Linked DNA regions of Homo sapiens: all the other regions are linked to region 7. The links are contacts of gene promoters, found by promoter capture Hi-C in blood cells and fetal thymus (Javierre and others, 2016). All regions are on one chromosome and are shown on one strand. The core of a region is centred on a gene start or on the middle of the fragment in contact, and the rest is flanking DNA. Distances in the headings are between cores, read along the strand shown.

Region 1 (3,959 bases), core at 89-2,588, 1.4 Mb before region 7:
ACATGCCTAATAATGAGGGCTCCTTTGCATATCAGATATGCCGTGTACCTGTAGAATAACTTCATTAGTACCTAAAGGTCATCTGAATCAACAACCACCAATATTCACTGATACTAAATTGTGGGAAGAAATGTCTCATTTGCTGTCATATAAAACCAACATTACCTGAATAATCATAGGTGTCTACTTTTCAAGATGTGAAAAAAACTTCATATATTACCTTGATCAGTAATTCATAACCCTGGTTGCACATTAAAATAACTTCTGGTAATTCCTAAAATATACTGATGTCAACCTCATCAGAACTGGAGGAGGAGTGCATCAGTAGTGTACTAAAACTCCTCAGTGATCCTAATATGTAGCCAGGAATGAGAATTATCAATCTCTTAGATTAGAGATGCTCCTGAAGGTTACTCTATAAACCAATGGGATCAGTTCTCCCCTCCATATCTTTCCGTGCACAACAGTGGAAGGGAAAAATGAGTGCCACATATTTCAAATGATTTTTTAGCAAATTGATTCTGGAGCATGTATACATGGTAGAATCTCAAACTTCAAGCATAAGAAAATTCATAAACTCTATCGTTAATGCCCAGCTATGACGATGCTGCAGACTTGTGCAAAGAGTTAATAGACTGTACTACTAACAGGGGAGGGGGCAGCTCACCCAATAACAGATGTCTGATTACAGACGCAGTACAAGAGCGAAAAGTACAGACTTTAAAGCCGGTCAACCCGGGGCTCTGCCACACACTGTTTACCTAAACCTGGGTTTCCTCCCTGTAAAATGGGAATTCACATCTACTTCATAAGTAGATATTAACGAGCTAAAACACCTAACTTAGTACGTAGTTACGATGATGATGACTCAATTTATAATACTAAGCTAATTAATGTCTGTTGAGTTTAACTAAAAGCAGAGGACCTGGAGAAAAGACCGGTCTAGGTCACTGCCACTGGCCCGCAAGCTCCTTTTCACAAATGTCCCGATGATGACATGTCATGAGCAGAAGACCAGGCAATTTCAGGCCATAGGAGAGAAAGGATGCAGAGGACAGGACGAGACTTGTAATGCCAAAAGGGGCCCAGAGGCCGCGCATCCCACCTATCGAAGCCTGGGCCGCGGCGATGCCGCCAGGTCTCCAGGATGAACCGAAGGGAGGCCGATGGTGGAGAATAGAGCACGCAAGGTCCCTCACCTTCACTACAGCTGTCCCCCGGCTGCCCTGCCGGCCACTGTCTACTCCCGCTCCGAGCTTGTTTACAACCAGGGTAGCCATCCTCGCAGGGGAAGCGCCACAGAAACAGCCTTCAGAGTCCTCAACTGAGAGGCGGGGTTGAGCCACCTACCCAGAGGCCTCTGCGCACGCCACCGGCGCACAGGCGCAGTAGGACACTGGGCGCCGCTTAGCCGACTCTTACTCCTCCTCCCCGCAATCGTCGGGTGGTTAGTTGCACAGCCTCGCGCATGGGCACTTTTGTTATTTTTCATTATGTAGTCTGCAGCTGCTGGAGGAAAGACAAGAAAAAAAAAGAAGGGACAAAACGATTAAAGTTTTGGGGTGAAAACTCCAGATCCTTTAATGATTTTTCCTCTCGAATCCAAACCAGCCAGGGCGTGAACTGAGGGCGGTGAGGGGGTACGGGCATCTCCCTGCATGCAACGCGGTTTTTGTATAAACTACAAATCCCAGCATGCCACTCTCTCTCTCTCTCTTTTTTTTTTTTTTTTTTTTTTTTAAAAAAAAAACTCCGGCAACGTTGGCCTTTGGGAGGCCGCGTATTGTTACCTAGGGGTGGTTTCTTTTCCTGCAGTCGCGATGTGTGATTGCAGATGGAAAACAAAGTATTTTATGCCTACGTTTCTAAGATAGAAGAAATGGACTTGTTGAAAAGAAGCCAGTTTGTAAAGGACACAGTAGGAGAATTTAAGGTACCACCACCAGAGAGAGGTTGAGAGTGCGTTTGACTTTTGGTTTTGCCAAACGCGAGGTTTTCCGTTTCCTTCCGGGGCAAGTTGAACCTGTCCAGCCCCCGTAGGCTGTGGGTCAAAAGTGCCGGTCAAAATGGAAGTGAATCCCCCTAAACAGGAGCACCTGCTGGCGCTAAAAGGTAAACTTTTGCGAACCTGATTCCCCCTTTTCTGTTTCCTTGCATTCCCTACTTATCGAAGCCTTTGCCATGTAGGCCTCATCCTTCTTAAACACTCAGTGCTCGCCCTCCTGCTCTGTCCTTTGCCGCCAAGCGGGAGGAAGCGATTTCTCCTGGATGCTTTTTAGGTTTATGGGCCCCTTTCTAGAACGAAATAGATACCTGGTAAATCGTTCTTTCTGATCTGTGCTGCTTCAGTCACGAGATTTTAGCCGCAGAAGCTGACGTCCCGCTCCTACCGTGGAGATCTCTGTGAATTACAGCGGGCATCCAAAGTGCTTTTTCCTTCTGTCTCTTGTTTCTTCCTGTGGCACTGACGAAGTTAATCAGGCTTCAGCTTCCCCTGTAAAATTAGTATTGCATGACAGTAGTGCAGAGAATTTAGCAATACATAGTAATACAACATATAACTTAGATTTATTCAAAACAAACTGCAGTTTACTTCAAATCACTGTGTATGTGGGAAATATGTCCGAGATCTAATGTCAACTCTCATTTTTTGTACACAGCCATTTTGAGTAAGTTTGGTGATTTAATTAGATCATTATTTAGGAAAAAACAGCAGCACTTTTTTTTTTAGGACAATTTTTTTAATGCCTATTTTCTGGAAACCTTTTATTTGAAATCTTTTCAGCTTTATTTTATTTGTTTTTTACTACAACAAATGCGCTTTTTGTTTCTTGGATGCCTTAATATATGGTTAACAATGACTTCTTGAATGAGCTGAGGAAATGCTCAATAAACATTCGGGTTCAATTGAATTGCGCTTACTTTACTTATGGCATCCATTTTGAGGAACGCCTTATCCTTCCCATTATGATGTAGTCATCAGACTTTCTAGAAGCTCATCAGTCTCATATAATGATGCCTGTGTTAGCGAGATTGTCTCTTACTGTGGAACTTTGTAATGTTTAGTGATACAGTGATGGGACCTGTAAGCTTAACCTGAGCAAATGATCTAGACTAAAATGGAGATTAAAATGGATTGTTACTCGTGGAGAAGAGGGAAAAGAAGAAAAGCAACTAATTGTCGTGTTCTTTATCTCACAATCTCACTTCAAGTATGTGGAGTAAATATTAATTCTCAGAGTTTAAGTAACTTTTCCAAGATCACATAGCTAGTGATTGAGGCAGTGTTTCAACGCAAGGCCTGCCTCTCTTTCCAAGAGTCCGTGTTGCCTCCTAAAGAATGAAGCAGCATTCTCAGAGATAATTCCTCTACCAGCTACTCCGATGGGAATTTGGAACAGTTCTATTAACTGCTACGTGTGATTTATACAAATTAGAAGCTATTAAAAACAGTTAAATTGCAGCCGCGCGTGGTGGCTCACCCCTGTAATCCCAGCAGTTTGGGAGGCCAAGGCGGGTGATCACAAGGTCAAGAGATCAAGACCATCCTGGCTAACATAGTGAAACCCCGTCTCTATAAAAATACAAAAAGTTAGCCAGGCGTGGTGGCGGGCGCCTGTAGTCCCAGTTACTCAGGAGGCTGAGGCAGGAGAATGGCGTGAACCCGGGAGGCGGAGCTTGCAGTGATCCGAGATCACGCCACTGCACGCCATCCTAGGCAACAGAGCGAGACTCCATCTCAAAAAACAAACAAACAAAAAGTTAAATTCCAGTGATACAGAGACTGCCACTGGGAATTTTTAGTTTTCTGTTATTCTTTTTTTTCCAAAACCAAGGATACCTAAGAAAGAATATTTAAGCAGCCTAAGCCAGGCGTGGTGGCTCACGCCTGTAATAGCACTTTGGGAGGCCGAGGCTGGCAGATCACTTGAGATCAGGAGTTGACACCAGCCTGGCCA
Region 2 (3,933 bases), core at 120-2,619, 1.4 Mb after region 7:
TATCATTTTCTTTCATAGGATCTGAAAATGGTCTAGCAAAAGGTTGTTTCTTTGTTAGTCTCATGTTCTCGTGTCCATGTCAAATAGGGAAAATGAGGAAATTAATTGCTGTCTCTCTCAGGAACTCAGACCAACATAAAAATAAGACTCCTGAACTTAGAGCCTGTTTTGTCCACAAGATTATCCAACCTGCAGCAAGCACCAGAACTTGCCTGAGATCCTGAGATCCTAGTCACCTGGACATACACCAAGATCTAGCATGGAAGAAGGGAAATCTGCATCAGGAGTTCAGAGAAGGAAGAAGGATCAGTGAACTAACCTTAGCTCCTCCCTTTCAAATATCCACCTGGAAAAACAAAAATCTGTTCTCACCCTGGGCCACAAAGCTTGATGCTTAGGAGGCAGGCAGCTTGGAGGTGTGTTTCACCACCTGCTGGTTGCATGACTGTGAGCTCAGGACTTCACCTTTTTGTGCCTCAGTTTCCTCATCTGTAAAAGGGAGACAAGAGTTGTATACCTTATAGCATTCAAAGCAGTTTTATCACCTCACAACAACAAATTCTCTCACACTAGAGGCTATTAATCATCCTAGCAAGAGAAAAAGAGAAGGATCTTCAAAATTCAAATTTGGTTCCGTGTTTAGGTTCCTGTAAACAAGTCCGACACATTCTCCCTCTGCATCTTTGTTCAAGTTGTTTGCCTCTGTTGGTTCTTTCTCATGGTCCTCCTCCCGATCTTCTGCCTCTTTCTTCCCTTTCTTTTTGTGGGTTTAACTCTCCAGGCCCATAAGGATCTGTCCTGCCACATCTCTTATTTGAGATGCTCATTTTTGCTCTTCTTTTTACTGTGTCCTTCTCAGAGCTCCAGAACGATTTATTTTGCATTACCCATTAAGGCAGGCACATTGCTAGGCGCTCGCTGGAGACATGTGGTTGACGCTTTTTGAAGAATGCAGAATGCCTGGCTTAAAGAAACCTACTTTCTTAGAAAAGTTCCAGCTTAGAGCAAACCACCTCGTGATCACCCGCGTGGAATCTCGGGCTGAGCAATGTGGTTTGCAGATCCCTGAGCAGGGGCCTGTGAAATCTGGGAAGCAGGCATGTGCTGTGCGCAGAGGCATTCCAATAATAGTTTCAGATGCAGAGGACGGGCGGGCTGCTGTGACTCATGTCCCCAGCGCACGCACGTCTCCAGGCAGAGGGGACGTGGGCGGGGACGCTCACCCTTGGCCGAGGGGAATTACCTGGGGAGGCCAGGAAACAGGCCCCGGAGCACAGACAGGAGCCTGGCGTGCACAAGGGCAGCCACGCTGACTCACACAGGAAGGCAAGAGGGCGATGACCAAATTTGAAAGAAGCAAGTCGTCTATGTCAGGGAAGCCCTTAGAGAAACAGGAAGCATGATCAGCTGGTTTCAAGCTCAGAAAAGGAAAATTCAGTGTGTCCCCATGCCTTTGTTCTCACAGAAGTTTATCAAGATGAGACTCTGCTGAGCCTAGCACTGTGGTTCTGAGAAGTGAGAGTCAGCTACCTCCTCCAAGGGGGCCTCCACAGTGAGAGCGCACACAGTTGTCCGTCTGCAAGAACTGTTGGTACTTACCATAGCAAACATGTACGGACAGGGCCTCCACCTTCAGTTTTGTGGGTTGTGACCAGCCAAAGGGTGGCCAGCCGAGGGAGGAACTCTGCTTCCCAAGTCAGGCACCAGCCTGAGCCAGCCCAGAGGAAGGGACATCTTTTTCTAATGTGTCTACCCAAATGAGCACACCCTTTTCCAATTACCACAAAGACACCCTGCATGCTAGCTGTGGCCCTGTCTACAGAACACTTATTATATTCCAGACTCTGTTAAGAATTTGGTACACATTGTCTCATTTAATTCTTACAACGAACCTAAGAGACGGATTCTTTTTTTTTTGAGACAGAGTCTCACTCTGTCACCAGGCTGGAGTGCAGTGGCACGATCTCGGCTCACTGCAACCTCCGCCTCCTGGGTTTGAGCGATTCTCCTACCTCAGCCTCCCGAGTAGCTGGGAACTTCAGGTGCGCACCAGCATGCCCAGCTAATTTTTGTATTTTCAGTAGAGATAGAGTTTCACCACGTTGGCCAGGATGGTCTCAATCTCTTGACCTCGTGATTTGCCCGCCTCAGCCTCCCAAAGTGCTGGGATTAGGGTTCTTTTATTAACTCTGTTTTATAGATGAGGAACCGTAAGTACAGAGAGGGAATCTGCCTAACGCCACACAGCTATTTGTATCAGATTTGAAATTTGTACAAGGGCATGCTGCCTCCTAGGATGATTTTGTTTAGAACTAGATGATGATGATGATCATGATTTCAGTCATAGGTAGTTGAAGCTTCCCTGTGTTCTCAAGGATGTCTCAGTCAGCCTAATATGCCTCTGGGGTAAACAGAGAATGGTGGAGTGTTGGAAAGTTCTTGGAGAGGTTGGCTCCACCTGTCCAGGGCCAGGCTGCCCCAGGGCCATGTGCCCTGGCTGAGTAGCTGGCCTCTCTCCTATGCTAGAGCTTGGTATATGCCCAGCTGGCTAGGCTCTCTGGATTTCAGGATCTCAGACAAGTTCTGGTGCTTGTTGCAGATTGGATAATCTTGTGGACAAAACATAGGCTCTAAGTTCAGGAGTCCTATTTTCATGTTGGTCTGAGTTCCTGAGAAAGACAGCAGTGAACTTCCTCATTGCAGCACAGGGCACTTCCTCCGGCAGCACAGGGCAGGGATCCCCCTAACTGAACATAGGCTTGCCACCACCCTATTTCCCCAATGCCCTGAGTGTGGTGGGACTTCTTGCTATGCAGAAGATTTCTGTATAATTCTCCAGGTAATGACAGACAGGATAACCTGCCACTCAAATGGAGTTGCCACTTCAAGAGAAACAGCAACCTTTAGTCCAGAAATTCTAAAGCATCAATCCCCTTAAAATCATATTCTCAGCCCAGGATTGGTATGCTAACAAGTTCCCAGGGAGTTTGATACCCGTAGTTCTTTGGATTATTCTTCCTGAAACATCGCTTTGGGCCTTTCATGCTGAGAGATGTAGGTCGCCATCCAAGCTAAATGAAATAAGCAGAGCTGACACTGAAAGTCCTTTTGTCCGATGAAAGCTAACAACTCTAGTATCTTGGCTGACCATCACATCCTTTAAGGATCATTTTATTTTTAACAAATAACTGGAAAGTTGGCTTGCAATACCTTCAGGTGAAGGCTTTGGGGGGTGGGGCCACCTGTGACGACATGAATTGCCCTGAGGAAAATCATAGGAAGAAAATATATAGGTTTGAGTGACCTGGGCCATATTTTTGGGGCCCAATGGTTCAGCAAATCTAAAGATTTTCATATAGAAACACAAAACATTTGGAAAATGAGAGTAGATAAGGATTTGTGTTTCAGAAGGGCAGCTTACACCTCTGAGTTCAGGGATGAAAGGTTCTTCAGGACAGAGGGTGCTGTACTTTCTCTAATTTCCCACCCAGACTCCCTCCTTCCTACAAACATAGCAGGCACGACCTGGGTTTTGATCTGAAAAGCATCACACAGGCTTGTGGCCCAGAAATGTCTGTCTAATCTTCCTGACATTTCATGCTTCTGTGGCTTTCCTTTGGCTCTGGAAGAATTGGGAACTGTGAGACAGCCCACCCGAAGGGCTAAGTCCCTGAGAGGGAACCCCTTAATCTGTTAGCCCTCTGCCATTTTGGGACAGATTTCTTATCAACCCTGGCAGCTAGCCGAGATAATCAAGGCAGGTAAGGAGGCAGTGCCTGGATAATGGAATGGGAGAGGGTTAATGAGATCTGATAGGACATCGGGAGGGGGGCATGTGGATGCTGTTTCACATGCCAGAGGCCAGGTCTGCTGGTCTGCTTACTTCCTTTATCCTTCTGATTAGAGCTGGAATGGTCCCTGCCCTCCCCACCA
Region 3 (3,935 bases), core at 838-3,337, 1.5 Mb after region 7:
AGATTAAAGGGTTCATATACAAAATTTAACAAAGGGTAGAGGGGTTAGGGCTTCAATAAGAAGGTATGGAAGGTTCTGTTGAGGTTTTTGATGCTAATAGCAATGGACACTCTGTCTCCCTGGCAGCGAAATTCCAGGAAACCCCCTCAGATGGGGGTTAATGGCAGCAGTATTTTCGGGAGGCCCTGCTTTAGTCAGGTAAGTGCAGTCGAGATAACACTTTTTTCTGTATCTTCTTTAGCTCAAATGTTCTCACTTCAAAAATCTTTATGCCAGCTCCAGGGATTTGAATGAATCCCCACAAGACTCAAGACATATATCATCTCAAGAACTTTCAAAAAGGAAAACTTCCTGGTTCCTTTCTAGGGCAAATTTTGAGATGGACAATATTTCTATGACATGCTTGAGAGCTTCAGGAAGGCTCAGTGAAGTTCCTGGTGACAGAGACATCACTGCCTAATACAAATGCACTGTGGGGTTACGGATAAGGTCTCTGCCCAGGATGACATCATCCTGGGCCTCATTCCAGTACTGTAAGCTGTGACTTCTGTGCCCAGAGTGAGGACTGCTGTTTAACTTCGTTAGGTTCTCAAGATACAAAGCCTGCTACTTACCTTCAGAAAATCATTGCACAATATTTCAAGAGTGAAGTCATATCAGGTTTCTTTTTTCTGTTTACTTTTGCCTTTCACTCATCACAAACAGGATAAAAGGTAGACCGTTTATATTTTTGGGTCACAAATTGATCTTATAACTCCAAACACTGACTTCCAGGGAAATTTTGTTACCAGTGGAAATATCTAGACGAAAAGGTGAAATTCAAAGTGCTAATTTCAAGAGGCAGTATCTTTTATAAGTAATATGAATTCGTGCTATTTGTCTATAAGGAAAACATGCTTCCTGTTCAGTAAAGTCATTTTCACAACCTCAGGAATGCTGCCATTATTAAGATAGTTAACAGCATCTTCTAAAAAAATTGTGGACTCAGGTTCATCATTTCAAACAGCTGATACACAATACACAATGTAGAAATTAAAGATAACTTGGCCAGGTGCGGTGGCTCACATCTGCAATCCCAGCTACTCGGGAGGCTGAGGTAGGAGAATCGCCTGACACCCGGGAGGCCAAGGCTGCAGTGAGCCGTGATTGCGCCACTGCATTCCAGCCTGGGCAACAGAGCAAGACCCTGTCTTAAAAAAAATAACCGAGCCACCAAGTGATCCTATCTTAGGAGATGGAAACCCCCATCATAAGAAGAGTAGGTAAATGTCTGCAGTCTAGCCTCTGGGAATGAAATTTCTTAAGGACGGGCTTCATGGATTTGGGGCTCATGAACCTGCAAGAACACTGGCAATCAAGAGAGTAAAAACATAACCAGAAGGGTTCAGAGTTTGGGAAGCTTCTTCGTAGCACTAACTGAGATATTGCTAATTAGTGGCTCTCCAAAATATTATTAAAATAATCTGTTGATTCTGGACAGTCTTTATTAGGGGAGGAGGCTGTCCTGTGCATTATAGGATGTTTAGCAGCATTCCTGACTTCTACCCTCTAGATGCCAGGAGCAGCCCCAGTCATGACAACCAGAAATGTTGCCAGACATGGCCAAATATCCCCTGGGAGGCAAAATCATCCCCAGTTGAGAACTGATGGCTTAAAGTTAATGGAGAACACTATTTACAAAAAATCTCACTAGAGTCTCGGGGTGCAGGTAGGGGATGGAGCAAAGTTGGGAGTATTTTTGAGATTGTGAAGTCTGGATTTTTTCCAATGTGTATCTTTTAGTGTGAGAGCCAGGGAGCCCTGGCTGGGGTCTAGTGAGGACCATAATCTAATCACTTAGAATGGGCAAACACAAGATGAAGATTTTGAGGGCAAAGACTCGGAAATGCTCAAATTTTAAAATTTTCCTTGAATGCTTTCTATTGACGAGTTGATGTGTCTTTGGGGAAATTCCTGGAATGAACAATACAGTTATTTGTAACTGTTATCTTCTTGAGGAAGAGTTTTCTGGAACAGTAAAGTTATGCTGATGAAGATCCTGGAATAGTAAAATCATGTTAACGTAGACTGTGTGGATATAAATACGTTTTAGATCTCAGTGAATTCCTTAAGTTCCTTGATTTTTTGCCCCTGCCCTTTTGCCCGTTATTACCACATTCAGAAAAGCCAATAAAATACAAAAAAAAAAAAAAAGAGACTAAAGAGGCAGCAGGAAGAAGGAGGGGCTCGGATGTTGCTGCTGGGCTCCATCCTGGCTTCACCACACTGACACCTGCATGACCTGGGTGAGCAACATACTTTCTCCAAACCTCAGCCTCTCCATCAATATATGGAAGTTGATAATAGTGACTCCTTCATCAAGTTGTGGTAGAGTTTGAATGAAATAATACATGACCAGTGCCCTAGACATACTATGCACTCAGTGGGTATAAATCAACTGTGTAAAACTAGGAAAACATGCCATCACTATGGTGCTTCTATGCTTAGACCAACATGCCTTTGGGGACTGCCTCATTCTTTCTGAAAACTAAGCAAATACTGGGTTTAAAAGGAAGCAGAAGTGTTGTCTCTGCACCCTAGAAATATTGTGTAGGGAGAGGTGGCTAACTCTCCTAAATCCTTCCACCCATGTTTTTAACTGAGCATGCTCTTGGATCACCACTAAAATGCATGGGGGAATTTAGGCTGTAATTTAGTAATGCCACTGTTTATAAAAGTAGAGGAACAATGAGAACACCATGGCATTAGTTTGGAGTAGGTTAAAAATTACTTTTCTGAAGCTTATCTACTAGAATGTTTATCTAAGCTATTTTTCATGGGACGTTTTAAAGACAATACCTTCCTTCAATAGCCATGACCTTGAATTCATTACATGGTGGAATTCTACTGCTTACTCTCTCCTAATTCTGAAAGCCAGCCATATTCTTCAAGTGGGAGACTCATTTGTACAGTGCCAGGTGCTGATCTAGGCACTTCATATGAACTTTCTCCTTTAATCCTCAGTCTGTAAGGTAAATACCGTGATGAGAAATCTGATACTCAGAGTCAAGCAATACAGTGAGGAGACCCAGCTGACACACAAGTGGAGGCAGAATTTAAGCCTTGTCTAGTGGGCTCCAAAGTCGATGGTTCTACTGCAGCATGTTACCACCTACATGTCTATTTCTCAAAACAGCAACAAACAGAAAAACCCTAAGATAACACATCAAACATCCTAGTCATGGTTTTACAGAGTCTGGGTCCATATGCAGTATTTGAACAGATAAACTGGTTTCTAGTATGTTGGCAAGGAAGGGGCAATCTTGCAAGGTGGATAGATCTAATCTGATTGTAAGGTGACTGAAATAACCAGACACCAGCCTCAGGGAGCCTCATTGCCAGTCCAGTTGTTTGCCTAATTTTAACCAGTGAATGAAGTAGATCCAATCCATTGGTTGACACTTAACTGCTGTTGATGGGGCTGAGAGGAAGAAAAACAAGTCCGTCCCCTCTCTTATATACCATCCTGTCCCCCAGTGCAATCTGAGTGCCGTGTAAATTTGGCAAAGGGATGTTTAGACAGCAAAGGTTATCAACAAAATGGTTATGGGCCAAGGGAATTTCACTGAATAACCCTGTGGCTGGGAGTGACACTGGAATTAATTGTCTCCTAGTGTCCTGAAGAGTAGGCTTCCTAGGATGGTCTCCTTTTTTATGGTGGTGGTAATCTTTTTATTATTTTTCACGGTGGGTGATTCATTAAAAGAACAACTAAATGCAATTCAATTTCTAGGCCTTTGTAAGGTTTTTGGGTTTGGTTTTTGTTTTTTAACATGAACCAGAGTTCTTTTTTCCATCTCAGCTCTGTGAAAATGCCAACTGTGTGATTCTGAGCAAGTCGCCTAATCTCACTAGGGCTCAGTTTCTTCTCTGTAAGAGAGGGATCCACTATGTGA
Region 4 (3,918 bases), core at 231-2,730, 1.3 Mb after region 7:
CACGATGCCTGTCATGTTTATATATATATATTATTTAATCCTTATTACTGCACATAATTACTCCCATTTTACAGATGAATAAATGGGATTCAAGTTAACTAACTTGCCCAAGACTACTGAATTCAGTAAGTGGCAAAGCAAGGATTAAAACCTAAGCCTCTTTGGCTTTAAAGCTCTGCTTCTAATCACTTTTTTACTACTGATTAAACAGATGTGTCCCAAAATTAAGGAAGTCATCGTTGTTTTTTTTGCTTTGTTTTTGCTTAGTCAAAGAGCACAGGCCATCATTTGTTGTAGTGTCACCCGTAAAGCTTAATAAGTTTAAAGTTCAGGGTGTTAATCATTACAAGCATAAAGTATGAATATGCTTTAAAGGTTTATTTAAGAAAAGAATTGGGATTAGATTTGCCCACCAGAATATACATTTTTCACTTGAAGTCCTGAGAGAGATTCAGACAGAAACAGCTTTGACTCAGCAGCAGTTAGCAGACAAACATCTTGATATAATACTGATCCACACTTTGCATATACACTTTCTTTTCTTTGTATTACATTTTTAGAGGTAAGTGGCAGTTTTTCACACACTTCCAAACTGCTTCCATCAGTAATGAAATATTTGGCTTGGGCAGCCTCTGGAGTCCCAGTGTTTCAGCTTAAACTTTCCAGTGGGCCCTGCCAGGCACTAACTTCAAAATATCTTTTTTTATGGTGAATGCCTCCAGAAGGTGCAACTGTGTGGTGGTTTCATTTTGCACTTCATAACGGTGTTGGCATCACTTAATGCAAAGAATGCCACTGTCTCCCACACACCGCTGGTGCCCAAGGACTGTCGAGGCCTGTCCATGTTAGTGGTTTGGGAAGGGCTGAAGTTTGGAGAGAAGGCTCTTTTTCTATTCCATGTGATTGGCTGTCACCAGGGCAAAGGGGGAAAACTAGAACGAGTGGAAAATGCAGCATCGGATGTGTCATCAAATATTCTTCCTACAACCTGGGACACCTAGTTCATTGGTGTTCTGGTCAACATTGAAGGCTGAATCCTCCTTTCTTTTGAAATAATGCGTGTCTTGGATTCACTACTTTTAAACCTTTCTGCTGATCTTTATCCTTTTCTTCCTAAGCAATACTGATTTCTTTCAATGAAAAATGATTTAGCTAGTGAAAAACTGGGATTGGGTTGTAGTAAAGGAATCAACAAATTTGCCCAGATTCTTAAGAGTGGAGTTGGTTCTCCACACTTATACACTGTGCTACAGCAAGCTTCACAACCAAAACCCATTACTTATTCAGGTATAAAAATCAAAAGCTGAACTGTAATGAGAATTTAAATGTAAACTGTTGGAGGATGGTGCTCTGTTAATTTGTGTTTGCTCCATACCCCACCCTATATAATTGATAATATTTGCATCTTTTTGTTTTTAGTACTATTATTTTTTGGTTTATCAAACTTTGTAACATGGTGCTTTATTGTGGACTTTTCAAAGAACACCTTGCCAAATTTGGTAATTCCTAGCAATTGTCATTTCCTGTTGGAATTTCTTAAAGTGGAATCTAATGGAAAAGTAATTCTTGACCTTGTGTATTTAGTAAAATTAAAGGCATAGTTGATTTTAGGATTGTCATAAAAATTAATATTTTGTTTTAAAAGACTTTTTAGACTTTCAATGCTAATTGATCCTATTGTTGGAAGTAGATGATATAAACTTTAAAGCTTTTTGGGTAGAACTTTCACATTCACCATGTCTAAATATTTTAAAGAGGAAATGGATTGACTCGCAGACATTTTGTACTAAGGAATAGAAAATCTTTGAATTGCTATTTAAAAAAAAAAAAATCCCTGTAAAATTTACCATTTTAAACTCCAGTTGCAAAATCCTGATCAGCTATGATGATTCATACATTTGAGCGATAAAGCTTTTTTCAATATTACAAATTCAGTGGGGAGTCACTCAATACATTACAAAAAGAGTACTTACACTTCCTAGTACCCATGTGTATTTTTTTTTCTTTTTAAAGCAATCTGGTGTGCCTTTTGAGAAAAGTTCCAGTGTTCTCACAGATCCTGACTTGGTGTAGCACAGTGCTTTTCAGAAACTTGGTCCAACACCTGAATGAGTAATGTGTAAAACATATAATGTTTTGTAGCTCAGGATACTGCAGGTAAACTAACACTTTTTGCCGAAAAAACATTGAAAAGACAAAGGAAAGCAAGGAAGTTTTGCTTTTTTAAAAAATTTTTTCAAGCTTAATGAAGAAAGAGCTGGAAATCCTTTTGTATGGAGCATTTGCCAGCCCAGCAATATAACAACTTTTGGGTGCATATTTCAATCACAATTAGATGAAATCTTTAATTATCATTTAATTTGACTTTCATATTTGCCTGCAGAAATGATTGTGTTGATAAGACTCTGGAATGAGACAAACCTTTATTAAGTAATTCCATTTTCAGAGCCAACATTAAAGTTTTTTTTAATTAAAAAAATGCCTGTGTAATTTATGAGAAAAGGGGAAGAGGAATTGGCATGTTGGTTGCATGAGAGTTGCATGGATATGTATTTACTATTTAATCTTTAGCTTTTTGAGATTTGGGGTGTGCTAAGTCTTGTTAGTTTGAGGGGCCTAAGGAGTGACACAATAATGGATCTTAATAAATAACACTTTTCTACATCATTTCTCTACCTTTATATTTCCCTTCTATTATATATGCTGACAGGATGATATTTCATTGTATTCAGTGTAGAAGGTGTTTGTGAGAGAGGATACTTTTGTGAGTTGATATTAAGGCAAAGGGAAGTGGTTTATAATTTATCAGAGGAAATGAAATGGTGTGCTCTTTCATTTTATAATATTTCTTTTAAAATTTTATAATGCTTTTAATTGGACTGTGAAACCTTTAAGACATTTGTATTTGAAGTGCTTTTCAGATATATTTACATTTTAACATACAGGGATTTGAGAGATGTCATTGCTGGATTTTTTCATAGGATCACCCACATGAATTTTCTTATCAAAAGAGTATGTCCTAAAGCTTATTTCTAACCCCAAACAGGTTACTAGCCCATTCCTGGATGTTCCGATTCTGAAGATTTAGGGTGGTACCTGGGAATCAGTATTTCTAGCACGTCCTCCAGGTGGTGCTTAGCTCTGGCAAGTGTGGGAGAGACCAGAGAGAGGTGAAGTTCCCACCCAGCCCTCTGCACAGTGACTGGAAAGTTAATGGCCAGTCGTTTGTGCTTCTATGAAACCTAAGATGTGTTACAGTGATGTTGCAGTAGGACAAAGTCACTCAGGAAATCGAGTGGTAAACATTGCAGGGCTTTGAGTTCAAATATTGATTAGCTCTATGTTAAGATGCCTTGTCTTCAGGGATAGCTTTAGAGTGGGATCTCTAACACAAAGCTGACTCGGGAATCTTTCATCTGCCATTGACAAAATTTGCCCTTGTGCAGGCAAGTAAGACTATACTCTCTAATTTTATGGGCACTAGCCACCTATGGTTGTTTCCATTTAAATCAGTTAAAATAAAAAATTCAGTTCTTCACTGGGAATGGCTGCATTTTACTCAATAACCGCTGTGGCTAGTCATTGCTTTATCAGAGAGCACAGCTGTAGAACATTTCCATCATCACAGAAAGCTCTAATAGTGCTACTGTAGGATTTTCCCTCATAATATAGCTCTTCTCTTTTTATCCTGGGTAGTTGCAATGGCTAATAGAATTAGGTGGAAAGATCATGCATCCATCTATGTACTGCACATTGCATACTGAAATCTGAAAGAATGTTTTTGCAAAATGACTTAATCATACTTCTCTGAGATCAAAATTTAATAACATTACTTTCATAACGTGAATTTGTTCTATGTTGACTTTTAGTACTTGAAATACAGGCTTAATTAAAAATTTGTTGGCCAGGTGCAGTGGC
Region 5 (3,708 bases), core at 683-3,182, 1.4 Mb after region 7:
AAATGAATGCTCTGTTTTCCTCACTACAAAACTCAGACAGTACCAAGTCACGGGCCAAATTCTGTTTGTTCTACTTGTCTTTGTCAACTAAGCATCCTTCCCCAGGGGACTGATATAAATCAGCCTTCCCAGTGTCAGTGTGTAACAACTTCCTGCGAGGGCGGGAAAAAGGAAGTGTCCTCTCATGTTGGCTCTGCAATTCATAACCTGTAAGACTCAAGATCTCCAGCAAAAAAGACAATTCAGGCAGTCCAGCGGTTGGCTGAAGGTTGTATTATTTCAGGATGTTAATAAGGTGAGACAGAAGAGAAAGCTGCTCAACAACCACATCTGTGTTCCAGAAGGAGAAAAGCAAAGTCATGAATTAAAATATGTAATTAAAAAATTTCTGCTTGGTATCCAAAGAAAATAAAATGCATTTAATTTTTCTCTCACCTTGACTTCAGTTTTTTTCTGCTTCTTGTTGCTCCCAAGTATTTTATACACTTTATCAACACCTTCTTTCCCCAAGGACTGTGTGTGCCTGTGTGTGTGTATGAGTTTAAGTGTACACATATAGAGGTAATGGGCTTTGGGGACAATAAAGGCAGGAATGGGTATAGCCAAAGAATGAGAGGAGAATGGGCCCATTAAAGTCAAGGAAAATGAAAAGCTGTTTGATAGTAAAATATATACACAAATGGATAACAAATTTAATTTGTGAGCCTTAAGAAAGACTCAAAATTATAATAGGCCACATTAAATTTGATTATTGGAAACTTTCAAAAGAACCCTTCTTATGTGCCCCAGTTGCTACAATGACATTTCCAATTCAATGTATTAAATGATCACTCTATAGGATTGGCCCTCGGCCGACTGACACCTGCTTCATCTCTGCTTTCTGGTGTTGAATATAAATTAATGTTCTTCATTTATTGTACCTTGTTTATTAAACTAACCTTCTGACATTTCACCAGTGCTCATTAGGGTTAAAGTCTGTCTCCTACTCAGAAAGGGTGACTTTGAGTTAGGTGAGGCTCAGGCTGGTTGGGCTCAGCTGTGGGGCTCCTTAACAATTGTGGGAGGAATTGTGGGAGGGAAGCAGGTGGGTCTGAAAGTCCTGGTGGGAAATGATGCTGAAATGTAGACAAAGGAGACACTGAAAATTACCCTTTTGGTCTGTGTTTTGCAAACTATTTGTATGGTCTCTTTTTAAAGGAAAAATTTGACATTTCAGGATTTTCAGTGTTTTATCATTTTACTTAATTACGAAAATGCTTATAGGTACTGAACACATGTACACACCTGTAGTACAACTCTAAATCCCAAAGAAATAAGCTATAAAAACTATAAATTCAAATTAGCAAAAGTAATTTAATAAGGATGGTTCTGTTTTACTGAAACAGAGTCATCTAGATTGATTTAATAAGACAAATGCATTTGCATGCTTTATGTCTCATTTTTTGGACTTGATTCTTTTGCTTTTGATAAGGCATTATTTAAGACATTATTGTTATTTTTCTTTAAAAAATTAACTCATTTTAAACCAATTAGGTTCATGGGCCACTTAAAACTGTGTTTCAAAATGCAATACTAGCAGGAAAAAACCCATTGAATTCCACTGAATAAGGAGTTTTCCACTGTCTTTTTGTAACTACCTGTACTGCCCCCTTATGAACTGCTCGATGTGCTGGAGTACAAAGATGGGTGCCCACTAACATGTTTGCTAGCCACAGGGTCTTGATGCTGACCACTGTGACTGAGTCTTTGAACAAGGCATGACTGGGCTGCCAATTGCTGAGGGTATTCAATTTCTTCACTATTCAGTTTCCTCATTTAAATTGTGAATGCTGCTTCTACTCATCATGCTATGATGCCGTTTGGTCTTCAGTAATGCTAAAGGGATAGGAACATAAATGCAAATTCAGACATAGAAACTGAGTAGCGGAGCTCAATTACAAGGTAATTGTTTCATGTCCAGAACTGCTTGTAGTAATGTACAAAATTACAAAGCCAAAACTATCACAGAAATTCTACACATTAGAGAACACATCCATGTTTGCACAACATCTTCCTAGTTTGTTGTTTTGCCTGGGACTATTGGACCTTGTTAATAGATTCGTCTAAGCACAGTTAATAAAATAACTTTTTGGCATTCAGAAATGTACTGTAGAGGGCTCTTATAATGGGATTATGGGACTGTGGAGAGATGACCCTTATAAAAGCATGTGATCATCATAGGTAAAAAGATTTTTTTTTTTTTTTTTTTTTTTTTGCTAAGGTGTGCTCCTAATTGAATTTTACTTTTCTGCTTTAGCTAACAAAGTTTTTTTAAAAAATGTAATGACTTTTGAAAATATATCATTACTTTTAACTTAACATATGTGCAAACCAACATTCACAGTTTCAAGTTTATGTGTTTCTGGTCAAGCCAGAGGCTGCTCCCTTGCAGCATTTTAATACCTCTGGTGGAAAAAAAAAAAAAAAAAATCATTTCTTGTTTGATACAGAAAAGAGAAAAGAACAAAATTAAATAAAAATGTTTTATGCCCCTTTAAAAAAGTTAACCTGAAAACCCAAAAGTTTATTTTGATTTCTGTTGGATAGAGACCATCACCCAAGGGATAGGTTTGCCGACAAAGGCACCAGAAATTTCTATTAAGTGCCTTATTTCATGCAGTGCTTCATTTAATTCCTGAAGACAGATTTCCAGTCTGCACAAGTACCAACACACATGTATTCATACTTTCCCCACAGCTTGCCGAAACTTAGGTGTCAAAGTCTCCCGCAATAGATTACTCTTCTATGAGGGAATATGCAGACTTGCTAGTCCATGGGCCATTGTTCCCTAGCACTAAGTTGAAATGATTCTGCCAACCGGGACCCCAGAGATATCAGAGATTTCATCATCTGGTGCCTAGCTGAGCTGCTCAAGGTCATTGACTAACTTAATGGCTCAGAAGATTATTGCAATCCTGAAGGAAACATTCCAGGACAAGTCATTCCTATTTATAGAAATAGCTTAAAAATGTTCCCAATAAACTCTTTACTCTGTCTACTTGACTTAAAATATAATTCTATTGCTCAAGTATTTACATATATATAAATTCGTGTGTTTGTATCTGGACAGGTAATGATGTGTACTTTAGGGACAAATCTTTGGTTTGCTTCTTAGAAATACATAGTCTTCATTCCACCAAACGCCCCCCAAAATTTATTTTTTTAAAAAATTGTGGCAGAGCCTGCCAGTTGTCCTCTACTATTCATTTTCACCTTTTCTGGTAATAGAATTTTCAGCAGACACAAGATTGTCCTAAATAAAGACCATGTTGCCACGTTACCCTGCCTCCCTTGTAGCTAAGTGTAGTCATGTGACTAAGTCCTGGTCAATGAGAAGTAAGCAAAAATGTTAGAGCAACTTCTGGGACCCTCATATGAGAGTTGGCTGACATATGCTCTTTGCCTTTTCAACATTTCACCCCTCCTGCTGCCTGGAAACAGATGCCACCTTGGACTATGATAATGAGGCCACACTATACAGGTAACAGCACGGTGAACTATTTTCTGAGGATTTCCAGGAGCAGATCCCCCTTACCCACCCAGTGCTGCTTTTTTCCACTCTTTTACACGAGAGAAACCCACTCATTTTTCTTGAGCTATTTTGTTTAAGATTGTTAATTTTGGATTTTTCTGTTCCTTGCATACAAACCTAAAATTACAGAACGCAAT
Region 6 (3,972 bases), core at 102-2,601, 1.2 Mb after region 7:
TACATAAGTTAGTAAGCATGGACTGACCAGTTCTTTCTAAGACACATACTTGAGTATTTATTCTCTTCAGTTGCAATGAAGGTGACAGTGAATTTGCTGAATAGCTGTGTACATGTTTCCCCAAAGAGACCACTGGAATAAAGTTTTGTTTCTTGAGACAGTTTCCATTGCATTTATAAGTCTTGTCCCTTGAAGGATGTTTTCTGGTAAACACCTGTATTCTTTTTACATTATATATCTTCATTACCGTACAAGTTTGGTTGTGAGCCATTCCAAAGTCTTTAGTATGCTGTATGGGTGTATTCTATACTTTATACCTTATTTGGAAGTCATAATAATGTCAAAACTATGCCTAGCCATCCCCTTCCCTGCAGAGTCTCTTTTGCTTTGTCCACTTGGTGTGTATATTTTTTTTTTTTTTTTTTGAGACAGAGTTTTACTCGTCGCCCAAGCCGCAGTGCAGTGGCGCGATCTCGGCTCGCTGCAACTTCTGCCTCCCGGGCCCAAGCGATTCTCCTGCCTTAGCCCCCCAGGTAGCTGAGATTACCGGTGCCCGCCACCACGCCCAGCTAATTTTTGTATTTTTAGTAGAGACAGGGTTTCACCATGTTAGCCAGGCTGGTCTGGAACGCCTGACCTCAAACGGTCCATCCGCTTCAGCCTCCCAAAGTGCTGGGATTACAGGCGTGAGCCACCGCGCCCGTCCATGTGTGTCTTTTTTATTTTTTGTTTTTTGAGACGGAGTCTCGCTCTGTCGCCCAGGCTGGAGTGCAGTGGTGCGATCTTGGCTCACTGCAAGCTCCGCCTCCTGGGTTCACGCCATTCTCCTGCCTCAGCCTCCCGAGTAGCTGGGACTGCAGGCGCCTGCCACCACGTTGTGTGTCTTTTTAAAAGATTTCCAGGACTTCTTTTTCCTTTACAAATCCAAAATTGCAGTAGCTTAATAAATAACAAATATTTTGGTTTTATGATTACTGTCAAATAGCTCATTAGTAAGAGAAAAAAAAAAATGCTGAGCCTTAAGAGGGGAGAGGAAAGGCAGTCTTTCTGAAGCTGAATCCTTTGCCTAAATTGTCTTAGCAATAAATCTTGCCACCTATTGGTAAAAAGGAAGAACTAAAACTAAAAGGTGTTTGCCGTTCTCACAGGTAGTTAGTAGTGTGATCGAAATAGAATTCTTTCAGCGGTGCTTTTGGATAAGGGGCTTGGAAATATGTGATTTGATATGGAACTTTTCCCTGTGCTTTGAATTTATCATGGCTCATCTCTAAGTCATAATAGTTTTTTGAGTAGAGGAGGTATGCTGCTCTCATGGTCTCTCTTAAAATTATATTTTTTGAGATAGAATTCCATTTTAATAGATCAGTGGATTTTAATTGGACACATTTTAGAGGCTTGATTGATTTTGAAAACATTTTTCTTTTTTCTTTCTTTCTGTCTTTCTGCCTTTCTTTCCACCACGGCTAACTGCAGTCTGAACCTCCTGTGCTCAGTTGATCCTCCCGCCTCAGCCTCCTGAGTAGCTGGGACTACAGGCGTGCGCCACCATGCCTGGCTAATTTTTCTGTAGAGATGGGGTTTCACCATGTTGCCTAGGCTGGTCTCAAGTGATCTGTCTGCCTCAGCCTCCTAAAGGGCTAAAATTATAGGTGTGAGCCACTGCACGTGGCCTTTTTTTTTTTTTTTTCTTGAGACAGGGTCTTCCTCTGTCACTCAGGCTGGAGTATAGTGGCATCAACATGGCTCACTGTAGCCTTGACATCTTGGGGTCACCTGATCCTCCTACCTCAGCCTCTGGTGTAGCTGGGACTACAGGCTGAAAACATTTTTCTAACTCTGTTGTTAGTTTGGGCTTTCCTTCATTCCAGCCTCTGAAATCCATTATTTCCTGCCCAACGGGACAGGCCAGTGGTGACGTTGGCCTTTGGTGCCAGGGCCTGTTTTTCCAGATCATGGGCACCATACAAAGATAACTGCCCTAAACGGCATCATTGCCCCAGAGTCATTGAATGTCCTTAAGGTGCATTTGATAAAACAAAAACAGTTTTTTGTTTTGAAAATTCTCAAGTATTTCCATACTGGGAAAATGTTCTTTTTTTTTTTTTGACAGGGTCTTGCTCTGCTGCCCAGGCTGGAGTGCAGTGGCGGGATCTCAATTCACTGCAACCTCTGCATCCTGGGTTCAAGCAATTCTCCTGCCTCAGCTGGGACCACCGGCACATGCCACTAAGCCCGGCTAATTTTTGTATTTTTAGTAGAGATGGGGTTTTGCCATGTTGGCCAGACTGGTCTTGAACTCTTGACCTCAAGAGTGACCCATCTGCCTCGGCCTCCGAGAGTGCTGGGATTACAGGCATGAGCCACCATGCCTGGCCAACAATGTTCTTTTTAATGGTGTTTTCCCCACTATCTGGATAGATATATGAATTCAGTTACTAAGATGACTTAGATTTAAATATAAAACACTAGCATAGCAGTTTTTGATTCTTAATATTATCTTAAATCCACCTCCCCTCATTGTCCTCTGTATCTAAACACCCTTCAATTCTTGAGAAAATTAAGATTACCAAAGATTAGTAATCTATTTGTGATTGTGTGTGTTGGTGGACATCCTAACAAATTTATGAATAAAGCCAATACTGTTTTGTTAGTGTCCTTATTTTTTCTTTACGTCTGTTCATATTTGGAATTCTAAGGCACTACCCAGATAATCATTTGATACCCTTTGTTGGCATGACATGTTTGGTCAATTGTTTTGGCAAAATTATTTATCCACCACTGGGAACTAAGCACTGTAACAACTAAAGAAAGAGGTCATACAAGGGAAATTGGAAGAACTATATGTTATTTGTTTCAATTTTTATGTAGTACACCTATATATGTGTGCAAAAAAAATGTAAACTGTTACAAAGCAACATATTGATGAATTTAAATGAGTAGAGCATAATAAAAGCAAAAACCAAACAGAAGAGTGGTTGGAGTGAGGCCATAATAAACCAAGAGATATTTTCTGAAGGAAGTGAACATGTTTGCATTTTCCAGCATACTGCTATGGATGTCAGCGTTAGGCTAATACATAGTATTGCAGCGTGATTCAAAAAGGTGAGATAGAGGGGAAATAAGATAGCTTCATAAATATTACCAAGGAATTTAAGACATGAGCATTTTATGTAGGGAGGTTGAAATGCATTGTTATAATCAGGCTGTGTAATTTCCTTCTGTCAAGACCTACCCATTTACCAGTAATGATACCTTCTTTCTCTTCTATTTTTGTCTCTTCCTTTAGGAAAAGGAATATATGCTTACTCATTATTTAAAATTCAGAGTCATTTTCCTGTTCCAGTTGGTTTTGTTCCTGGAACCACCAAAGAAGAGTAGAATTAGGTGCATGTGAAACTTTTGTTTCTGCTTTTTCTACTCAATCAACTTTTATCCCTTTTTAATTTTTACTCTCTCAACCATCAGTTCTATATCATGGTATCTCTTCTTGGTCTTTTTGTATTATATTTCCATAAAACCAGATGTACGGGGTTGTTAAAATACTGCCTGGACATATTATCTACCCTGCACTAAGTGGTCCTATCACAAAATCCAGTTAAACACACATTGAAGTATTTAAATTGTTTCTTTTTTAAATAACATCATATTGGGCATTGGACTTCTTAACTAAACTATTTCTTTCACTAAATGACATTGGTTAATTCAACAAGCCATTGTAGGAATTCTGTTAACCCAGTAGCTTCTACTACTATGTTACTATGGTAATGACTTAGCTTCCCATAAAGCTGCATTTAAATAGGTGTTTATAGTCACCAATTACCAGGTATTTCAAGTACTCTTTGAAAGGGGCCTGCTTGTGGTGGGGTGGGGGGCGTTAACATAGATACTTTCTCAGTCACGTAGCCATTTGAAGTTTTTCAGGTAGAAGACAGTTGATAGACTATTTGGTGAGCAAATGAATAACTGGATGAA
Region 7 (4,119 bases), core at 1,103-3,602:
CTCAAACAGCTCTCAGAAAATCCACTCTTGTGTCAGCTCTTTCATCTTTGGATCCAAACACTCTTTCACATAGTTCTCATAGTTTCACATAGCTGTATTCAACTACTGCTTGTTCCCTAAATTTTTTCTTCTCTACTTTCCACAGAGTTCTTCAACCCATAACTTATATAGCACAAGTTCATGTCCACCTTGATTACTCTTCTCTGTGCGGCTTATAATATGTAATTGTCCCTCTTGATCTTGGATACCTACAAGTGAGCACAAAAAGTTATTCTCTGGGCTTGCCTTTGAGGAGGGGACATGGGACTCAAAGGGAATTCCCCTTGAGTTTGATTGTGACATTTCTTAGAGCCATGTAAAGACCTGAGGAATGTTAGCACTGATATCTTTCCAGCTACATGATATAGATACAAATAAGTCACTAAGAGAAAGTCTTCAGAATTTACCGTCTTCATGGGATTCTCAAAAATTCAGTATTCTTTGAGAATACAGATCTACTAGTACTAATAGTTTCAGTGCATCTTAAGAGAAATAAGAGATACTTGGGCTTCTGAAGTATCCATTCAAAAAGGATTTACTAATATTAAATGCCTATATAAACTGAGGAGCTGTCAGGTTCTGAAAATATGAAGATCAGTAAAATGTGACTTTAGCCTTGAGGAACTCAGACTAATTGGAAAGACAGCAGTAAACAGTCAATTATACACAGTGTGATCAGCAGCCTGGTTGAAGACTCTAGAGAGTAGAAAGAAGCACATTGTGGGGTGTCCTCTGCTCCAGTCTTATGTCTGTCAGCATAGTATTCTCTTAGCTTCTGTATACTGCCTACATTTATGCGCAGTGTGTGTGTAGACATTGCGTGAAAGGGCTTATGTATGCCATCTCCTCTTCATTTATGTATATCAGCCTCTTACAGGTTGGTCCTATTATGGACCCCATATTGCAGCTGGGGAAAATGAGAAGAGATTTAAGGTCATAGTAAGTGTTGTATCCAGAATTCAGACCCAAAATTTTTGCTCTAAACCAGTGCTCTGTATCACCCCTCTCAGAGAAGCCTTTATCTGGAGCAGTGGTTCCCAACCAGGGGTGATTTTACCTCCCAAGGGACATTTGGCAATGTCCTCAGACATTTTTAATTGTCAGCACTGGCATCTAGTAGGTCGAGGTCAGCAATGTTGCTAAACATCCTCCAATGCTCAAGAAAGCTCCTCAGACAAAGAATTATCCAGCCTATGTCAACAGTGCTGAGGTCTAGAAACTGCTCCGGAGCACAGGGACACTCTTTTGTGTCAGCCTTCAAAACATCTTTTGCAATACTTAGAAACATTTTTTAAAAGAAGAGCATGGGGCAAAAATGCTGGACCAAGCTCATTAATATCTATTGAAGTGTGTTTTGTCATTTAGTGTCCCTGAATGTTTGGGATAAAGTCCCAAATGTAAAATTGAGAAAATAATGCCTTCTTTGTCTACCTCTGTGGGTTGCAAGGATCTGTGGAGGCTCTGTAAGAATGTGAGGAGATAACGCATACGAAAGCCTTGGACATGAAACATCATCCAAAACTCTTGGAGTCCTTGGTGTGAAAATATTAATGTGGGCCACAAGAATTAGATAAAGAAGATCCCACAGCAGGCTTCTTTTTGTTTACCCCGCCTACCTTGTCAGCTTACACCCCCTCTTCCTTCTCTTTATCCTCCCATTTTTGTAAGCGAGTTTGTTCCTGGTATTTACTGCATGGACTAAGCCATTTTTAGATGTATTTTTTGCTGAATATATACTTTTTTGATTTAGTATTTCTTGCCATATTACACCAGACTTAAGGCAGCTAATTTAAATTATATTTTTTCTTTATGTACTTTATACAAACATTCATGGATAGGGGGAGATATTTAAATACCATGCCTTTCTTCAAAATGAATAACAAGAACATTCAGCCCCCTTCATTCTGCCCTTTCAAGGTCTAACGTACTTGAAGGGGCAATACTTGTAGCATTTGCCACATAAATGCCAGGTAGTGTCTTTCCACATCGGGGCTCACCATTACCTAGATCTGTAGTTGCCGGCCATGAAGCCAAACAGGTGTGCACCGTGGTCATTGATGGAACAGATGTAAACTCATAAATTTAGTTTACTGAGGTTTTCGGTGAGTGTGGCTTCCCGTCCGCGTGCTTTTCCTATACAACCAGCGGCGTCCTGGCGGAGGAGTCACTGTGGACTTCCCCGGAGCGTTGTCACTGCCATCCCTCCCGCGGTGAATCACAGGTCGGCCTCAGGTGCGCGCAGCACACACCCGGAGCAGCCGCGGGTTTATTTATTTATTTCCGGGACGGATCCATTCCGGGCTCCGGGGAGGGGGAGCGGCGGCCCAGGCTGCGGGGCTGTCCCGGCACCGGCTGGGGTCGCGCCGCGGCCGCCTGCTCCCTTTCCCGTGAGCCCCCGCTCCTCAGGCGCGGCCGGGGCTGGTGGGGGGTGGGGGATGCAGGAAAGCTGGGGGCGCGGCCACCAAGCTGTCCAGGGACAAGGCCCTGCCGCCTCCTCCCAGCCGGACCCTGGAAGGGTCCACAAAGGTGTCAGGTTCAAGTCCTCCAATAGGCCCATTTTTTAAAAGTGCTTTTAAGTTTCCGCTTTTTTCAGGAGGGGAGGGCAAGAGCAGCTTTTTCTATTCAAATTCTTTTCCTTGTATGTAGATACCAAAAGGAAACTCGGCACTGGGCATGTTCGGATGTGAATGGTTTTGCTGATAAGCAACAGCCTCCGGAACCAAAGCCTCAAAATAGTCGTCTCCCCCGCCCCTCGCAGAAGCGGCGAGTGGTATCTGCCAAACAGATGACAAAGTACCTCCGACTGAATCCCACAGACAGCGCTTTGAGCAGAACGCACGGCTCAACTCATGTAATTACTGTTTATAGCTGGCCGAGCCTGACTAGGAGAGGGCAGACCCGAGAGGAAATCAGTTTCCCGGACCTTTGAGAGGAGGCTGTGTGTTAATTAAAGGCTAGGACGGGACGGGTACTTCTCAGACATGCTCCAAGTTGTTCTTGAGATCACAGTTCCCATCACATTTTCTCTGGAGGGAGTGAGTAGATAATTGGGATTTTTTTTTTATTTTTGGCCTTGTCTTTCTTCCTTTTTTTTACCTCTCCCCATTTTAGTCATATGGCCTTGAACCCACAGTGAATTGAAGAGAGAAAGAAATGGATATGTCTGACCCCAATTTTTGGACTGTGCTCTCAAACTTTACTTTGCCTCATTTGAGGAGTGGGAACAGGCTTCGGCGAACACAAAGGTAAAAACGCGGGGATCTCTGCCTGGAGAGGGAATGCTTTCACTTCCCAGGGGCCCACAGGCGGAGCTGCCTGAGCCCCTCAGGAGCTGGGGTTTTGTGTATTGGGTGACACTTTGAAAAGTTTATGCCCCGCTAGGGGAGGGGGTACTGTTTCAGGTATTTCTTCGTCCTTGTGGTTTCCTGGGTAACCCTGATAAATGTGCTTCTCATAGGTTTTCTCCTTTTGAAATGTGGATAATAAGACATTTCCTTGTGAGAGGTGGGGGAGAAAAAGGGAAAGAGGAGGAGATACTTTGTCTAAGTCTGTCCCTTTGACCTGATCATGTTTATCCATTTCATTCACCCAGTCATTGAGGCTTCTGGTACTTTTCGTTGAGCCCTTCAGATGTTCCTCTCTATTAAATATTTGACCTTTATAAGATGCAGATGTACGATGCAAGGATAGCCCAGGTTAGCTATTTCATACTATCTGTGGAGAGGCAGATCTACATAACTTTGTCATTTTGATTTTTCAATGGTTTGCTGGCATTTATTACTAATACAGGAGTGTCCTTTTCATTTTGTAACGTATATTTGATAGAAAAGATGGGGAAAGAAAAAGAATTTTAATGTCAAGATGAAGCTCATGCCACAAGTGACAGGCAGTTCCAAGAGTTTGCTGACACTTGTGTTGAGAGACTATGACTTTGAAGGAGGCATTTCTCACCACATTTGTGTCCAGCACAGAAAAGTAAGATTGTTGTACTTTTAGAGGGGCACACCTTTTGAGTTGTGTTAATACTGATTCTTTGTTTTCCTTCAAAACTTGCCTTGCATGTACATGTGAACATGCATG

What was found. Contacts are between HindIII fragments. The CHiCAGO score rates a contact against its expected background, and 5 or more counts as called.
Region 1: a contact is called between the fragment with the promoter of TRIM23 here and the fragment with the promoter of MAST4-AS1 in region 7, in 1 of 17 cell types (total CD8 T cells). The highest score is 6.4, in total CD8 T cells.
Region 2: a fragment that was not itself captured here is called in contact with the fragment with the promoter of MAST4-AS1 in region 7 in 2 of 17 cell types (activated CD4 T cells and non-activated CD4 T cells); the score reaches 9.5 in activated CD4 T cells.
Region 3: a contact is called between a fragment that was not itself captured here and the fragment with the promoter of MAST4-AS1 in region 7, in 1 of 17 cell types (naive CD8 T cells). The highest score is 5.6, in naive CD8 T cells.
Region 4: a contact is called between a fragment that was not itself captured here and the fragment with the promoter of MAST4-AS1 in region 7, in 3 of 17 cell types (non-activated CD4 T cells, naive CD4 T cells and naive CD8 T cells). The highest score is 6.8, in non-activated CD4 T cells.
Region 5: a contact is called between a fragment that was not itself captured here and the fragment with the promoter of MAST4-AS1 in region 7, in 1 of 17 cell types (activated CD4 T cells). The highest score is 5.4, in activated CD4 T cells.
Region 6: a contact is called between a fragment that was not itself captured here and the fragment with the promoter of MAST4-AS1 in region 7, in 6 of 17 cell types (naive CD8 T cells, naive CD4 T cells, naive B cells and 3 more). The highest score is 8.6, in naive CD8 T cells.

Annotation. Positions count from the first base shown.
Region 1 is chr5:65,622,995-65,626,953 of GRCh38, forward strand. TRIM23 (tripartite motif containing 23) reads right to left here and starts at 1,339. Exons shown (of 11, transcript NM_001656.4): 1 at 1,200-1,339. The coding sequence starts at 1,280. It overlaps TRAPPC13 (trafficking protein particle complex subunit 13), which reads left to right and starts at 2,033. Exons shown (of 13, transcript NM_024941.4): 1 at 2,033-2,112. The coding sequence starts at 2,067. It overlaps SHLD3 (shieldin complex subunit 3), which reads left to right and starts at 2,033. Exons shown (of 2, transcript NM_001365341.2): 1 at 2,033-2,112. RefSeq lists enhancers at 1,009-1,338, 1,469-1,548. The HindIII fragment of the contact is 4,327 bases long and covers 1-3,088 here.
Region 2 is chr5:68,433,097-68,437,029 of GRCh38, forward strand. LOC105379013 (a long non-coding RNA gene) reads right to left here. Exons shown (of 5, transcript XR_007058804.1): 4 at 373-489. Among named protein-coding and RNA genes, the nearest start is that of PIK3R1, 220 kb to the left of the region's middle. RefSeq lists enhancers at 618-1,817, 1,096-1,435, 1,126-1,420, 1,806-1,865. The HindIII fragment of the contact is 1,971 bases long and covers 385-2,355 here.
Region 3 is chr5:68,456,349-68,460,283 of GRCh38, forward strand. The region is part of intron 3 of LOC105379013 (a long non-coding RNA gene); the gene reads right to left. Among named protein-coding and RNA genes, the nearest start is that of PIK3R1, 240 kb to the left of the region's middle. The HindIII fragment of the contact is 1,381 bases long and covers 1,398-2,778 here.
Region 4 is chr5:68,268,067-68,271,984 of GRCh38, forward strand. The region is part of intron 2 of PIK3R1 (phosphoinositide-3-kinase regulatory subunit 1); the gene reads left to right. Among named protein-coding and RNA genes, the nearest start is that of PIK3R1, 54 kb to the left of the region's middle. The HindIII fragment of the contact is 451 bases long and covers 1,256-1,706 here.
Region 5 is chr5:68,415,521-68,419,228 of GRCh38, forward strand. No RefSeq gene overlaps it. Among named protein-coding and RNA genes, the nearest start is that of PIK3R1, 200 kb to the left of the region's middle. The HindIII fragment of the contact is 4,501 bases long and covers 1-3,708 here.
Region 6 is chr5:68,245,907-68,249,878 of GRCh38, forward strand. All of the region lies in intron 2 of PIK3R1 (phosphoinositide-3-kinase regulatory subunit 1), which reads left to right. Among named protein-coding and RNA genes, the nearest start is that of PIK3R1, 32 kb to the left of the region's middle. RefSeq lists an enhancer at 3,615-3,972. The HindIII fragment of the contact is 6,788 bases long and covers 1-3,972 here.
Region 7 is chr5:67,001,802-67,005,920 of GRCh38, forward strand. It overlaps MAST4-AS1 (MAST4 antisense RNA 1), which reads right to left and starts at 2,353. Exons shown (of 2, transcript NR_111908.1): 1 at 2,043-2,353; 2 at 1-248. All of the region lies in intron 4 of MAST4 (microtubule associated serine/threonine kinase family member 4), which reads left to right. RefSeq lists a silencer at 2,231-2,570. The HindIII fragment of the contact is 7,419 bases long and covers 1-4,119 here.